Regions from separate parts of the Homo sapiens genome. Here region 1 is linked to region 2. The links are contacts of gene promoters, found by promoter capture Hi-C in human tissues and cell types (Jung and others, 2019). All regions are on one chromosome and are shown on one strand. Each heading gives the region's core, a stretch centred on a gene start or on the middle of the fragment in contact. The rest is flanking DNA. Distances are from core to core; before and after follow the strand shown.

What was found. Contacts are between HindIII fragments. The study calls those that stand out against the background at their distance.
Region 1: a contact is called between a fragment that was not itself captured here and the fragment with the promoter of RPS19BP1 in region 2, in 1 of the 25 tissues and cell types used here (IMR-90 fibroblasts).

What each region holds. Positions count from the first base shown.
Region 1 is chr22:39,838,102-39,841,534 of GRCh38, reverse strand. The region is part of intron 3 of ENTHD1 (ENTH domain containing 1); the gene reads left to right. Among named protein-coding and RNA genes, the nearest start is that of ENTHD1, 54 kb to the left of the region's middle. RefSeq lists an enhancer at 2,176-2,225. The HindIII fragment of the contact is 3,011 bases long and covers 1-2,992 here.
Region 2 is chr22:39,530,956-39,534,232 of GRCh38, reverse strand. RPS19BP1 (ribosomal protein S19 binding protein 1) reads left to right here and starts at 1,485. Exons shown (of 4, transcript NM_194326.4): 1 at 1,485-1,546; 2 at 1,710-1,838. The coding sequence starts at 1,495. RefSeq lists enhancers at 1,291-1,340, 1,391-1,450, 1,240-1,755, 1,756-2,271 and silencers at 1,561-1,720, 1,901-2,030. The HindIII fragment of the contact is 6,935 bases long and covers 1-3,277 here.

The DNA.
Region 1 (3,433 bases), core at 238-2,737, 310 kb before region 2:
ACAGACTTTAAACCAACAAAGATCAAAAGAGACAAAGAAGGCCATTACATAATGGTAAAGGGATCAATTCAACAAGAAGAGCTAACTATCCTAAATATATATGCACCCAATACAGGAGCACCCAGATTCATAAAGCAAGTCCTGAGTGACCTACAAAGAGACTTAGACTCACTGGTAGTTTCTAAGAGCGCTCCCTAATGGCTCTCCCACATGCAAATCTGAGTCTGAGAGTCTGTTTCCTAGGGAACCCAACCTACAATGGCTTTTCCTCTAGATTTAAAATATAGGACAGTAATAATATGTGTACATAAATAGATAATGAGAATAGAGAATAAAGCAAATGGGGCAAAATGTTAACAATTGGTGAATCTGGGATGAAGACCATATGGGCATTCTTTGTACTATTCTTGTTACTTTTCTGTAAGCTTAAAATTATTACAAAATCAAAGTTAAAAAAAATATGACAAATACCAACTACTTTAAGATGCTTAAGTTAGCCAGGCGCGGTGGCTCACACCTGTAATCCCAGCACTTTGGGAGGCCGAGGTGGGTGGATCACGAGGACAGCAGATCGAGACCACGGTGAAACCCTGTCTCTACTAAAAATACAAAAAATTAGCCAGGGGCAGTGGTGGGTGCCTGTAGTCCCAGCTACTCGGGAGGCTGAGGCAGGAGAATGGTGAACCTGGGAGGCGGAGCTTGCAGTGAGCTGAGATCACGCCACTGCACTCCAGCCTGGGCGACAGAGCGAGACTCCGTCTCAAAAAAAAAAAAAGATGCTTAACTATGTGCCAAAACAACGAAATTGGAGTCAAGGTTCCAAATTCACAATTCTGTAAAAGTTAGATATAAATTTAAGCACCATGAGACTTGACTTTTAGATCTTACTAGCTCTTCCTTAGCCCACTGAATATTTTCTATAATGCAATATATCTGTCTGTTACTAAAAATTAATTTTTTAAGCAAATTATTTAATTCACTTACATTACACCTAAAAGGACATGGTTATTATATGCTAAATAATAAATGGAACAATTTGGAAATCTGTTCAACTTATGGAGCGTTGCATTTCCAAAATGTATGGTGCATTGCTAATGCCTGATAATTTGAACGTCAGTTTGATATCTCATCTAAGAAATATCGGAGGGTTCACAAGTTCTGCTTTGTGGTATTATCTGAGTGGTGCGGGCTCAGTGGGATGTACAGCTTCTTTCTAGATAGTTTCCACAAAGTACTTACAACCTTGGTATCGAAGCACTCATCTTTGAATGACTCAATGGCTTCATTTCCTGCAGCATCATTACTTTTTCCTCTGAGGTTTCTCATTCACATACTAGTCTTCACTGGCTTGTGACTTCACAGTGTCAATTGATAAGTAGCTTACAAGACCAAAGGGATCTCATTTCCACTAAGGAACTATAAGGAACTAAATGTATGTTCTCTCCTACTTGCTTGTGAAAATCCAGAAATAAATGTTGTGTAATTACCAAATCTAATTAAGCACACCTCACTTCCAGTGTTATGCTATCTGATACTGAAAGAAAAATTTAATGAGTTTCCATAGACCCACTATATTCTAATTGCTTTCTTTCTTGCCTCATAAGATAGGTTTACTACATTTAGGCTATTCTAGGCCAAAATGCATCTCCAACATGCAAGATATTTTTTCTTTCACATTTCTTGCTATTCTTCAGTTTCTCTCAAAATTTACTTCAAAATTGACCATCTGACATTTTTACTAATCTACTTCTGTAATGTCTAAAACCTAAGACCATATGATTTCCAAGATAATTTAGTTGCTGAATGCCGAGCAAGTGATAATGTAGTTGATTAAATCCAGTGAAAGTAGATAGATGATCTAAGCCCCAAGTCACCACTCTTTGCCAATATTAGCTACAAAATCTCCAAGCCCCAAATAAGCTCATTTTAATTATTCACTTTTATGTGAAGTTAAAACAAAATGAAAAGTTACAACCATAAATGAAAGATTCTTATTTCTTCAGTATCTCTGGCATCTACCATACTTTCTCCCTTTGCCCACGTAGGTCCTTCTGCTCGGAGTAATTTATCTTTGCCTCTACCCTTATTGGAATCCTAGCCGTCCTTCAAAGCCTTGTTCAAATTTTACTTCCTCTTTGTGGTTGTTTTTGATTACTCTGGTGCACATTGTTGTTTTCCTCCTTAGAGTATCTGTTCCTAAAATTAATTAATTCAAGAACGTTTAGCATATAATTGTTCTCTGTTTCCTGTAAGTCTGTATGTTAGACTTATATACCTAGTCAGGCTATAAACTTCTAGAAGGTAAAGACTGTGCCTTATATTACCGCTTTTCAGTATTTTTTTTTGTTTTGCATAACCCCTAAAATGATTTTGAAACACTATGTACCTCCTCACACATTTTTGAGTTGATATATGAAGTTTTATAAGTATAAATAACTGCAAAGGATATAATTCTGGCACGTTGTAAATATTGACATTAAGGACAAAAGAAAAGAAAAAACAAGCAAACTGTTAAGTTATATCCATCTTTTAAATGTATCTAAGGGAATCTAAATACCATTGTGATTGATAACTGTAGTCATTCATTTAAAAAAAAATACATGAAGTCCTTAACTGTTAGAAATTTTACATTATTCCCTTTTCTCTCTGAAGTCATATGTTTATTCTACATTTCTTGCAGAATTTTATTCTAATATAAAATATTTTTATGCTTGGAAATCTTCTCTACATCAAATAGATATAAAATTGAAATTATTTTTCTAAATTTTCTCTGACCAAAGGTTTTAATATTTCTTCTAGATTGACTTATTACAATTATTGTTAGTATGCAGTCAATCAAAACCACATAAATGCATTATAAATTTGTATGAATATTTGTTAAATATAATTTTATTAGAAATATATGGTTTTATGAGATAATTGGAACTGCTCGTTTGCCCACATAGGAGTGTGACTGATTGCTAGCTACAAGCAGGGCTCAGCAGAAATCCTGCCTCTATTTTATTTATATTTGTATAAAGATAAATGCTGAGAAAACTTGTTCACCTAAATCATAGATGGGACAAGAAGGTGCTTTATTATAATAGTGTCAGTCAATTCTATGAATTTCTTCCAAGTAATATGCTGGAAATTATATAGTGATTTATTATAAAATATATTTTTATCTCTTGTTGACTGTTAACTTGATGAAGTCATTTTTCAGTGTTGCTAAAAGCAAAGAATTAGAAACACCCTACTTAGAAAAAGACTTGTTAAACAGTCATAAGGAGTAATTTACTTTCTCAATTTCTGGGAAGAATACCAAAAAAATTCATACTAAAATTTATTAAATAACTATTAATTAAACCTGTTATACTTTAATTTAACCGAATATACTCAGAAAGTGTGAGAAAAATTAAAATATTAATTGCAGTATATCTGTCAATACAATTTT
Region 2 (3,277 bases), core at 236-2,735:
CCCACCCAGCACCACAGCACTGCTCTCCCTGGTGGCTGGGACAGGAGCGCCCCCACAAATCCTGCGGCCAGGCTGCCAGTCTTAACTCCCACCCCTGACTCCACCCGTGTGACCTTCGCCTCTCTGTGTTTGTTTCCTCGTCTGTAAAATGCAAAAGACAATTCCTACCTGGAAGGGTAGGGGGGATAAACAAGTTAACAAATGTAAAGCACGTAGAACAGCACAAATGCTTGAGTTTGTGTTGGTTGTTATTATTACTCTCTAGCCGATGGAGCTTAAACGGTGTGGTCTATCCCGGAGGACGAACTCCAGGTCCCACACTCTGTGGTGTCAAGTACACAGAAGGCCCTCAGAACCCGGCTGAGTGAACCCAGTGGTCCCTTCTGATTCACCGTTCACTTATTGCGTGTCTTCTCCATGCCAGGTGCTGGGCTGCCAGCTGCAGATGGAGCAGCGAACAAGCCCAGGGCTCCTCCCCCAGGTAAGCAGTGTCACTTCTAGGCCAGAGGGGCTCAAATGTTTTGGTCTAAGAAGCTTCTTACATTTAAAACTTCAGAATCCCCTCACTCCTGTAATCCCAGCACTTTGGGAGGCTGAGGTGGGCGGATCACTTGAGGTCCGGAGTTCAAGACCAGCCTGGCCAACATGGCAAAACCCCGTCTCTACTAAAAATTTTTTAAAAAGAAAATTAGCCGGCCGTGGTGGCGGGCGTCTGTAATCTCAGTTACTCGGGAGGCTAAGGCAAAAGAATCGCTTGAACCCGGGAGGCGGAAGTTGCAGTGAGCCGAGATCGCTGCACTCCAGCCTGGGCGACAGAGCGAGATTCCGTCTCAAAAAAAAAATTAATTTAATTAAATAAAATAAATTTTAAAAAATTCAGGATCCCAAAGAACTTTTGTATGTAGGCAACTGATATTTGCCATACTAGAAACTAAAACAAAAATTTTACATATTCATTAATTCACTTAAAATGACAATAAACCCATTGCTTGGTAACATAAACAACGTATTTTATGAGAAATAATTGTAGTTTTCAAAACAAAGATATGTCTTTAATGTCTGGCTTAAGGGAAGACAACTGGATTCTCATGCTGCACTCAACCTGTGCGATACCTAGTGCTGGTTGAAGTATATGAAAAACACTCCGCCCTGTCCCCATCCTAGCCCGCCACGGAGCCACGAGACCCGAGAGGATTGGCCAACCCGGCGGAGCAGGTTGCGGACGGCTTCCGGGGAAGGAGGGGACTGAGCGCCAGGAGCCAGGTAGATTGGGATTGAGTAACACATGTGTCTTTCTGCGCCTTGGACCCGCCTCCAGTTTCCGCCCCTTCTTCCGCTCAAGTGTAAACCCCTAACGCATGCGTCCTAAGAAAGATGGGCACTTCCGCCCATCCCCCTCCGGATCCCTCTGTTCGGGCTCGGGTTTCCGCCGAGACGACAGGGACTGCCAGGTCGGAAGTAGTGTGAGGCTCGTGGGCGGAGCCAAGCGCCGCCATGTCCGCCGCCCTGCTGCGGCGGGGCCTGGAGCTGCTGGCGGCGTCCGAGGGTGAGGAGGGCTGGCCAGGGGACGTCCGGCGCGGGCAGGAGGATGGTAGTGGCTGCGGGCGGGAGCCCTGGATGGAAAACAATCCAGGCCGGGCTTAGCCCCAGTGGCATGGGAACGCTGCGCGCCCTCTGACCTGGGTCTCTTCCTCTCTCTTCCCCTACAGCCCCCCGGGACCCTCCAGGTCAGGCCAAGCCGAGAGGGGCTCCGGTGAAACGGCCCCGGAAGACGAAGGCAATTCAGGCCCAGAAACTGCGGAACTCGGCCAAGGGAAAGGTGCCCAAGTCGGCACTGGGTAAGTTCGGGAAGGGGCTGAAAGTGCTGCCTCCGGTGCTGGGACCTGCGCCCCAGAGGAGGTGGCGCTTGAGGCAGGGCTTGAAGCGTTCGCCCGGTATTGCTAGACCTACTGTGTGCCAGGCGCGGAGCGGGGCCCTGGACATACGAAGGTGACAGAACACGCCACCGTCCTGGTCCTCGTGGACTACGGCCCTAGTGGGGAGAGAAGCATCAAAGAATATCAAACCCAGTGTGTCATTGCTAAGTGCATTGAAGCCTATGAATTAAAAGACTACGGTACTCTGATGGGGACTTAGGCCAAGTCAGCCTTCTCTGAGGAAGCGACATTTCAGCCGAGAGCTGAAGGATGTATAAGAGTGAGCTAGGTGAAAAGTAGGAGAATATTCTAGGAAGAATAGTATGTGCAAAGGTCCTGAGTCAGAAAGGAGGTTGTTGCCTTTGAGAATTTGAAAAAATAAAGGCTGGTAAAGGTGACCTAGTGAATGAGGATCAAAGATGGAGCATTTAAACACATTCACTAACACTCTGTACCAGGTGCTGATTCTAAGTGCTGTACAAATGTAAGCTCGTTTGATCCTTACAGCAGCCCTTTGAGGTCGATACTACTATCACCCCCGTTTTACAGATTCAGAAAAAGGCACCTGCCCAGGTGGTACAGGCATTGTGGCTGCCCGGGCATTGTGTCTCCAGAGTGCTGCTATTACCTACTCCATTGAAATAGGACATGCTGTGGCCTGGGCAGTGGCTATAGCAGCAGAGATAACAAGAGAATTGTGCAGGTGGAAAATATGTTAAAGAGGGGGCAGCAGAGAATTTCAGCCTTTAGAGGGGTTTTAGTGGTGAATTGGCTGTGAAGGTGGAGCCTAGTTTCTTGGGGGACGTAGTGTCACTTAATAGACATAAAGACTTTCGGAGGGGCTGGTGTAGGCAAGATGGTGATATTTTGACATGTGTCAGGACGTGGCAAGCTCTTACTGTGTCTGAATCCCTAGAGTCTAATGCATAAAAGATGTTAAAGTATTTGTTAAAAGAATTATGAATTCCAAGGAGGAAATACAACTTAAGCCAAAGTCTGGAGGCAGGAAAGTGAGACAGGTTTGAGCCCCAGCGATACTTGCCATGAAGCAGGAGTGTGGAGTGCCAGAGGTCATTCCCATCTGTCCCAGCCCTTGTCTCACTGTCGTGTCCTGGGTGCTCACCCACCTCCCCTGTTGGATGGAAGCTCCTAAAGGCACACACCTCCTTGGGCTTGTCCGCAGCCTTGGTGTCCACCACAGGTTTTGGCACATAGATGCTGAGTGAGAGGAATGGCAAGCCTCGCAGCCAATGGAAAGAACACCTCTGCAGCTGCCACTTTGCTCCAAGCTGCATCGTCTCTTGCCTGAATTATTGCAGAAGCCTAGCCGGTCTCCTGCCTTCCACATGCCCCTCCCCCCG